Regions from separate parts of the Homo sapiens genome. Here region 1 is linked to region 2. Evidence: promoter capture Hi-C in human tissues and cell types (Jung and others, 2019). All regions are on one chromosome and are shown on one strand. Each heading gives the region's core, a stretch centred on a gene start or on the middle of the fragment in contact. The rest is flanking DNA. Distances are from core to core; before and after follow the strand shown.

Evidence for each region. Contacts are between HindIII fragments. The study calls those that stand out against the background at their distance.
Region 1: a fragment that was not itself captured here is called in contact with the fragment with the promoter of SYT5 in region 2 in 1 of the 25 tissues and cell types used here (dorsolateral prefrontal cortex).

The regions. Positions count from the first base shown.
Region 1 is chr19:55,324,336-55,329,179 of GRCh38, reverse strand. It overlaps TMEM150B (transmembrane protein 150B), which reads left to right and starts at 3,839. Exons shown (of 8, transcript NM_001282011.2): 1 at 3,839-3,908. The HindIII fragment of the contact is 8,762 bases long and covers 1-4,844 here.
Region 2 is chr19:55,178,038-55,182,626 of GRCh38, reverse strand. SYT5 (synaptotagmin 5) reads left to right here and starts at 2,338. Exons shown (of 9, transcript NM_003180.3): 1 at 2,338-2,510; 2 at 3,541-3,664; 3 at 4,259-4,431. The coding sequence starts at 3,586. It overlaps PTPRH (protein tyrosine phosphatase receptor type H), which reads left to right. Exons shown (of 20, transcript NM_002842.5): 19 at 476-611; 20 at 724-1,380. The coding sequence ends at 873. RefSeq lists silencers at 2,323-2,512, 2,393-2,805 and an enhancer at 2,793-2,872. The HindIII fragment of the contact is 16,640 bases long and covers 1-4,589 here.

The sequences.
Region 1 (4,844 bases), core at 1,296-3,795, 150 kb before region 2:
AAAGATCTGACATTTCTCCAAAGAAATATGCAAATAGCCAATGAATGCATGGAAAAATGTCCAACGTCATTAGTCACTAGGGCAATACAAATTCAACCCACAAGGAGACACCACTTCACACCCTCCAGAATGATTACCATCAGAAAGACACATCAAATGGGGGACGGTGGCACAGGCCTGTAATTCCAGCTACCTGGGAGGCTGAGGCAGGAGGATCTCTTGAGGCCAGGAGGCTGAGGCAGGAGGATCTCTTGAGGCCAGGAGGCTGAGGCAGGAGGATCTCTTGAGGCCAGGAGGCTGAGGCAGGAGGATCTCTTGAGGCCAGGAGGCTGAGGCAGGAGGATCTCTTGAGGCCAGGAGGCTGAGGCATGAGGATCTCTCTCTCTTTTTTTTTTTTTTTGAGATGAAGTGTTGCTCTGTCACCCAGGCTGGAGTGCAATGGCGCAGTCTCGGCTCACTGCAACTTCCGCCTCACAGGTTCAAGCCATTCTCCTGCCTCAGCCTCCCGAGTAGCTCGGATTACAGGCGTGTGCCACCATGCCCAGCTAATTTTTCTTTTTTTTTAGTATAGACGGGGTTTCGCCATGTTGGTCAGGCTAGTCTCCAACTCCTGACCTCAAGTGATCCGCCTGCCTCAGCCTCCCAAAGTGCTGGGATTACAGGCATGACTCCTGGCCAGGCAAAGGGATCTCTTGAGGCCGGGAGTTCGAGGCTGTAGTGTGCTATGACACTACCTGTGAATAGCCACTGAACTCTGGCCTCAGCAACAAAGCCAGATCTCATCCCTAAAAAAGATTGTAATGTAATTTTAAAAAGACCGATAATAGCAGGCACTGTTGCCGGTGTGGAGAGATTGAAACCCTCATGCACTGCTGTCAGGAATGTAAAATGGTGTAAATCGTGTACACATGGCGGAAAGTAGTTTAGCAGTTCCTAAAAATGTTACTATACAACCCAGTAATTCTACTTCTAGGTAGAATGGTGGCAGGTGCCTGTAACCCCAGCTACTCGGGAGGCTGAGGCAGGAGAATTGCTAGAACCCGGGAGGCAGAGGTTGTAGTGAGCCGAGATCGCGCCACTGCACTCCAGCCTGGGCAACAAGAGCAAAAGTCCATCTCAAAAAAAAAAAAAAAAAAGAACATATGAGCAAATGGCTGGCCGGATAGGCAGGTGGGTGGATGAGTGGAGAAATAACTAGCTGGAGGAATGCACAAAGGCATGAACATATGCACAGATAAATGGATGTTTCAGGAGAAGGTTGGATGGGTGAAGATAAGGAGGGATATTCAAGGGCATTGCATGGCACATAGGAAGGAACCAAACTTTACAGCCAGACAGACCCAAGCTGCTCCACTCGGTAGCTGAGTGACATTGGGCAAGTACGGTAGCCAGGTGGCTCACCCTTCCTGAAAGAACTTGATTAGCAGGGAGGACTTCAGCTGGTCTCCAGCCTCCAGCAGTAGCACCTTCAGCAGTGTTTGATTTGGATTGCTATTACATTCTTTTTATGCAGCCTTGACCGATGACTAAGCATGGGGTGGGGAGCAGAGCCTGGCCGTTTCTGCCCAATGTGGACACCTCTAAAGTCAATGTGCTAAAGTGTTTATTTATTTATTTATTAAATTTAACTTTTTGGCCAGGCGCGGTGGCTCTCACCTGTAATCCCAACACTTTGGGAGGCCGAGGCGGGCGGATCACGAGGTCAGGAGATCAAGACCATCCTGAATAACACAGTGGAACCTCATCTCTACTAAACATACAAAAAAAAAAAAAAAAAAATTAGCCGGGCGTGGTGGCGGGCGCCTTTAGTCCCAGCTACTCGGGAGGCTGAGGCAGGAGAATCCTTTGAACCCGGGAGGCGGAGCTTGCAGTGAGCCGAGATCGCGTCACTGCACTCCAGCCTGGGCCAAAGAGCGAGACTCCGTCTCAAAAAAAAAAAAAAAAAGTTAAATTTAATTTTTAAATTATTTATTTATTTATTTATTTATGTATTTATTTATTTATTTTTTGGGACGGAGTCTCGCTCTGTCGCCCAGGCTGGAGTGCGGCGACGCGATCTCGGCTCACTGCAACTGCCGCCTCCCGGGTTCCCGCCGTTCTCCTGCCTCAACCTCCCGGGTAGCTGGGACCACAGGCGCCCGCCACCACGCCCGGCTAATTTTTTTGTATTTTTAGTAGAGATGGGGTTTCACCATGTTAGCCAGGATGGTGTTGATCTCCTGACCTCGTGATCCGCCCGCCTCGGCCTCCCAAAGTGCTGGGATGACAGGCGTGAGCCACGGCGCCCGGCCCACTCTAAGCATTTTAAAGTATAATTCGGTGTCGTCTAGCACAGTCCCAATGTTGTGCAACCTTCGTCTCTATCTAGTTCCAAAACAGTTTCATAACCCCCATAAGGAAACTCCAAATAAGCAATCATTTCCCATCCTCCCCTCTTCCCACCCCTTGCAACCACTGACTTGCTTTCGGTCTCCATGGACTTGCGTATGGGTGATCTTTGCACCACATTTCCCAGCTGACCTGACCGGGGTTCTCAGAACTGCACATGGTCTGTGATTCTTCCACTCTCCCCATCTCCTTTCTCCAGTGTCAGACCCAGACCCACTCACGTTGCAGTCTGAAGTCTCTCCCAGCCACTCCTGGTCTTTCTCCTCCTTTTTCTTTTTTTCTTTTTTTTTTTGTATTTTTAGTAGAGACGGGGTTTCACCATATTGGCCAGGCTGGTCTTGAACTCCTGACCTCGTGATCCGCCTGCCTTGGCCTCCCAAAGTGCTGGGATTACAGGCTTAAGCCACCGCGCCTGGCCTTTCTCCTCCTTTATCCTTCAGCAACCTCATCCCCAGTCAATCTCTTGCTTTTCTTTTCTTTCTTTCTTTTTTGTTTTTTTGAGAGGGAGTTTCGCTCTTGTCGTCCGGGCTGGAGTGTAGTGGCACAATCTCGACTCACTGCAACCTCCACTTCCTGGATTCAAGCGATTCTCCGGCCTCAGCCTCTTGAGTAGCTGGGATTACAGGCGCCCGCCACCATGCCCAGCTAATTTTTGTATTTTTAGTAGAAACGGGGTTTCGCCATATTGGCCAGGCTGGTCTCGAACTCATGACCTCAGGTGATCCACCCGCCTCAGCCTCCCAAAATGCTGGGATTACAGGCGTGAGCCACCGGGCCCGGTCAGACAGGCATTCTTTTAGGGTCTTATGTGGATAACCCCAATAAACCCTCACAATTGCACGAGGGCAGACCATCATGATCCCTGTTTTGCAGACAAGAAAACAGAGGTCCGAGACCCATCTATCTCTAGAGGTGTACATCCCCTCCCTGGGGAAGGTTCTGAGACCTCTGTGTTCCTAGACGTCTACATCCCCTCTCTGGGGAAACTTCCAGGCAGGGGACATAGACATCTAGGGATATAAAAATAAAAATAGGCCGGCCGCGGTGGCTCACGCCTGTAATCCTAGCACTTGGGAGGCCGAGGCGGGTGGAACACCGGATGTCAGGAGTTTGGGACTAGCCTGACCGACATGGAGAAACCCTGTTTCTACTAAAAAAATACAAAATTAGCCGGGTGTGGTGGTGCATGACTGTAATTCCAGCTACTTGGGAGGCTGAGCAGGAGAATCGCTTGAACCCGGGGGCAGAGGTTGCGGTCAGCTGAGATCGCGCCATTGCACTCCAGCCTGGGCAACAAGAGCGAAACTCCGTCTCAAAAATAAAAAATAAAATAAAAAAATAAAAATAAAAATAAAAACCAGTCCCCACCACCAACCACAAGCGGTTTCCTCAATATGAAAGTGCAACGTCATCTTTCTCAGAGGAAAAGCACAGCCTCTTCCCCTCGGCTGAGCCAGGCCAGCAGCCCTAGCTTCTGGAAGGATCCTTCAGGCTCCAGACACCCAACCTACCCGTGGCCGGTGAGTGGGGCCTAATTCCCAACTTGAAAGTAGCTCGGCAGGCTGGAGCCCTGTCCCCTGTCCTCCCAGGGAGGGTCCAAGCAGGTCACATAAGCACCGTGGGGACACCAGTGAGCCAAACTCATCTTTGTGCCAGGACACCGAGTTGGGTATGGAGGCTCAGAGCGGGGACAAGTCTTCCTTAGGATCACCTGGGCTTTCTCGTCTTTATTATTATTATGTTTTTGGAAGAGAAGTGGGAATCAGCCAGGTGGCAAACACAGGACAGGGCAGGGCAGGAGATCAGTGTTGAGGGCCGACGGAGGAGCAGGTAGCATGGACCCCTCCCTCCCCTGGGCTCCCTCATAGCTTTGTGTGACTTCCTTTAGAGGAGCTGTCACCTGCTGATCATCTGTGTTGCCCACAGACAGGGATTCCCCTGAGGGCAGGGGGTGGCTCAGATTCATGTCTGGGCAAACGGAGACCTCCGGAAAAAGAAGCGAAAGGAGGAAGACGAGACCCAGAGGAGAGGCATTTGGCAGCAGAAGGGGTGAGGAGGACTTGGAGAGCTTTGCCCTCTATCAGCCCCACTGGGACAGGATTTATTTTTTATTTTATTTATTTATTTTATTTTATTTATTTTTGGAGACGGAGTCTCACTCTGTCGCCCAGGCTGGAATGCAGTGGTGCGATCTCGGCTCACTGCAACCTCCGCCTCCTGGGTTCAAGCGATTCTCCTGCCTCAGCCTCCCGAGTAGCTGGGATTACAGGTGCCTGCCACCACACCCGGCTAATTTTTGTATTTTTAGTAGAGACGGGGTTTCACTATGTTGGCCAGGCTGGTCTCAAACTCCTGATCTCATGATCTGCCCACCTCGGCCTCCCAAAGTGCTGGGATTGCAGGCGTGAGCCACCATGCCCGGCCACCCAGCTAATTTTTTTTTGTATTTTTAGTAG
Region 2 (4,589 bases), core at 1,089-3,588:
AGGTTTGGGAGGAGTGAAGAAGGCCCATCAGGCACTTAGAACAGAGCCTAACAGATGGAAGGAACTCCAGGCAGTTTTGTTGTTGTTGTTGTTGTTGTTTTTGAGATGGGAGTTTTGCTCTTGTCGCCCAGGCTGGAGTGCAGTGGTGTGATCTTGGCTCACTGCAACCTCCACCTCCTGGGTTCAAGCGATTCTTCGCCTCAGCCTCCCAAGTAGCTGGGATTACAGGCATGCGCCACCATACCCGGCTAATTTTTGCATTTTTAGAAGAGACGGTTTTGCCAGGTTGGCCAGGCTGGTCTGGAACTCCTGACCTTGGGTGATCCACCGGCCTCAGCCTCCCAAAGTGCTGGGATTACAGGTGTGAGCAGGCATAGTTATTGTCATCATTCAAACACAGATCCCTCCAATCAGCCATGACCCCGGACCCTCACACTCCTGCCCCTTGGTCTGACCCTTCCCTTGTTCTGCCTAGTGCTGGCGTGGGTCGCACAGGAACCCTCATTGCCCTGGACGTCCTGCTCCGGCAGCTGCAGTCCGAGGGTCTCCTTGGGCCCTTCAGCTTTGTAAGGAAGATGAGAGAGAGTCGGCCGTTGATGGTGCAGACTGAGGTGAGGCAGTCCCTCAGCAACACAGGACGGGAGGCAGTGGGACGAGGGACCCTGGGGCTCCACGCAGCTCAGACCTGGGGGGACGCCTCTCACTCCCGTGCCTGCTTCCCAGGCTCAGTACGTATTCCTGCATCAGTGCATCCTGCGGTTCCTCCAACAGTCAGCCCAGGCCCCAGCCGAGAAGGAAGTCCCGTATGAGGATGTCGAAAACCTCATCTACGAGAACGTGGCCGCCATCCAGGCCCACAAGTTGGAGGTCTAAGTGACGAGGGGGCTGGGTCGGCAGCCCAGGCATCCTCAAGCTCTGGACACCCACTTGAGCCCAGATTCCTGGAAGAGCAGAGGGCTGGGCTCCCAGACTCCTGGGTGCTGTGGGAGGAGGGGGCTGGTATCCCAAACTCTGGTTTCCCCAGGAGAGAGTGGTCTGGTGGGCTTCAGATGAGTCCTATGGGAGCTGGGGATCTGGATTCCTGGTTCCCTGAAGGAGGAGAGGGATGATAGCTTGGATTCCCTAGGTCTTTCCAGGATGCAGAAAGAAACAGGCTGGGGCCTGGATTCTGAGGCAGGAAGGAATTTGGGTCTGGAGTTCTGGCTACTTGAGGACCAAAGGCAGGAAGGATCCTGCCTTGATTTTACTTCAGAAACCAAATCAGTCTTCTATAATCTGGGGTCGGAGGGAGTCCCTGTGCCCAAGGTCTCTCTGCACCCCACCATCCACATGTATTTTTCCTTCTATCCCATAATTTATTAAATCACTGTTCTCCCCAGAGACAGTTGTCCCATGGATTTCTGGGTCTGGAAATAATATTGGATTGGGAGTAGGGATGGGTTCCTGGTATCTAGGGATCGAGGCGAACGTCCAGGAGGGGACTAGAGGGACCCACACATTTGCACATGAAAAAATGTAGGTTTGGGTGGTTGAGTCTCTCAGAGAAGGCAGTGTCCAGACGTCTGTGTCCAGGGTCTGGGCAGTATGGACAGGGCTCGCTGGAGCTAGGTGCTTGGGGACTTGCCTTCTGAGCTTTTCTTTTACTCTTCTCTGTTGTTGTTGTTGTTGTTTTGTTCTGTTTTTGTTTTTGTTTTTGAGACATGGTCTTGCTCTGTTGCCCAGACTGGAGTGCAGTGGCTCACTGCAGCCTTGACCTCCTGGGCCCAGGTGATCTTCCCACCTCAGCCTCTAGAGTAGCTGCCATCACAAGTGCGCACCACCACGCTGGCTCATTTTTGTAGAGACGGGATTTTGCTATGTTGCCCAGGCTGGTCTCCAGCTCCTGGGCTCAAGCATTCCTCCTGCTTCGGCCTCCCAAAGTGCTGAGGTTACAGGTATGAGCCACCGCACTGGCCGCCTCCTGGGACTGGTGTTAGGGGAACTTAGAGGGCGATGTCTGGGGGCTGATAGCTGGGGACTTTGATGCTGAACCCTGCAGAGTCTGGGTCTCCAATGGGGGTCTGGGGTCTCCTAGGTCCTAGGACTGAGTATCCTGGCATGCCGTTCTTTGGGCTATACAGGGTGTGTGTCGTGTGTGTTGGGGCGGGAGGAGTGGAGTGGTCTGGACGGCCAACGACTGGACCAGAAGGCAGAAAATGCTAAAGCACCAGGATAAACATCTGTGGGCGTCATCGAGGTTCCCGGGTGGAGGCGGGAGGAGGGGCGGGGCAGGGCTTTCCGCCTACCCGAGACCAAATACGGGCACACACAATACACACCACACACGCGCGCACACGCACACGGGCACACACGCGCGCACGGGATCCTGCTCCGCTCCGCGGCTCCCCCGCCCCGGAGAGCTCCGCGATCAGCACCCGGGACAGCGCCACCGCCCACGTGCAGGGGGTGGGGTCCGGGCGGGGCTGGCGCCTCGGCGTCTCCCGGGAGTGTCCCGTCCAGCCGCCGAGCAGGTAGGAGCTGCTGGGACCCCCGCCCTCAGCCCATCCGCATCCGCATCCCTAGAGGAAAGGGGTGTGCGAGTGGGGGCTGGGGCACTGGGGAGACAACCAGAGGGAGGGCAGCAGCCTGAAGCGGAGAGACAGGGATCTGGGGACGCGAGACAGGTATGGAGAAGACAAAGAGCCGAGGGCGGGGAGTGGGGCGCAGGCGGAGGGGAGAGGGAGAGACCCTGGAGACAGAGGCCAGGCGATAGGGAAGAGAGACAGGCGGGTTGGGGAGGCAGACACAGGGAAGACGCCTATGTGGGGTCAAGAGGCAGCGTGGAGACCGAGGCGGTCACGAGAGCAGCACGGATGCGTGGAGAGACCAACAGGCCAAGAAGGATGAGGGGGCTCAGCACAGGCACCGGGCAGCCCCCGACCCGCCCTCCAGCAAAATTGGGGAGAGGGAAGAGGGAACCTGCGTCTCAGCTCCCAGGACCAGGTGCGGAGGGAGCAGTCGGCTGTGGGCGCTCGGACCACAGGCTGCCCGCTCCCCACCTCGCGGGACCTCAGGATCCCAGTCGGGCTATTGGGGGGTTCCCAGGCACCGGTGGGCCCCGGAGCGAGCCTGCCCCGCCGGGACTCCGCGTCTGTGCGTCAGCCCCGCCCGTTGTCCTGGCAACAACCCGTTGCCCGGGCAACCAGCTTTGCTCTCACCCCGCTTGAGAGGAGCCCGGCTGTTGCTCTGGGCAACGCGGTCTGCTGGTTCCCACGTCTGCCTTCGCCCGCTTCCGGTTCAGACCCTGCGGAGGGGCGAGGACGAGGCAGAAGTCAGCGGGATGCCTGTGGGGCCGTGGAGGAAGAGGGTATCCCTTTAGGATGGAACTAGGTCCTGGACACCCCCTCTCAAGTGCGGGGAGGCTGATACTACAACTCCCAGCATGACTCGCGGTGGCTGTCCGGTTTCTGCGCGGCTGTTCGCGCAAAGGCCTCATGGGAGTTGGAGTTCTTTGTTGTGCGTGGGGCTCAAAGGACGTCTGGGGTGGGAATGGGGGACTAGGGTGCTTGAGTGTCTCTGCAGAAAAGACTCCAGGACCCCGCCACCATGTTCCCGGAGCCCCCAACCCCGGGGCCTCCATCGCCCGACACGCCTCCCGACTCCAGTCGCATCAGCCACGGCCCAGGTGAGCAAGACCCGGGGGTGGGGGGCCGAGCAGAGAGAAAGCCTGGCCAGGATTCCGAGGGGCGGGATTCGGACGGGTGTACTCGGGCAGGCGGGCTGGAAAATCCGGCTGGGATCCCGGGTCGTCATCCTGGACTGGAATGCGAACGAAATGGGGTAAAAGGAAGGAACAGATTTGCAAAAAAAAAAAAAAAAAAAAAAAAAAAAAAATCGAAACCGGATCAAGGGGTGTTGCATGGAATGGGATCTTAGAATTGGAAGGTCCACCTAGCTCTTCTTTTACAGATAAGGAAACAGGCCCGATGAGGAGCAGGGCTTCTTGTAAAAGCATCAGGAGTTGAGCAGAAATGGGGGGCGGGGTCGGGTAAGGAAAGGCAGAACTAACAAGCAAGCAAATCCAGATGGTGTCAGCCTGGGTTGGGGCATCGAATCTCTCTATAGGCCACATTAGGTGGAAGAAAAACACAGGAAGAAATGCAATGAAAATGGCTGGAGGGAAAAGGAGGCCAGCATTCCAGCTTCCACGTGTAATCAGGACTGAATCAGCCTGCGTGCTGCCCAGGCCTCAATGTGTGTTGTCTCCACCCCTCTGCAGTGCCCCCCTGGGCCCTGGCCACCATCGTGCTGGTCTCAGGCCTCCTCATCTTCAGCTGCTGTTTCTGTCTCTACCGGAAGAGCTGTCGGAGGCGGACAGGCAAGAAGAGCCAGGCCCAAGCCCAGGTCCACCTTCAGGAAGTGAAGGGGCTGGGCCAGAGTTACATAGACAAGGTGTGGCCCAGCCCAGCCCCTCCACCTGGCCCCTTCCCGCACCCTGCTCCTCTCAATGGCCCAGCTGGTCCCAGTCCCTGCTCCCTTCTGTCCTATAGGAACCCACCTTACTGGCTCATCCTCCCTGTGTGTCTAGCCCTCAACTGGACTCTGGGGAC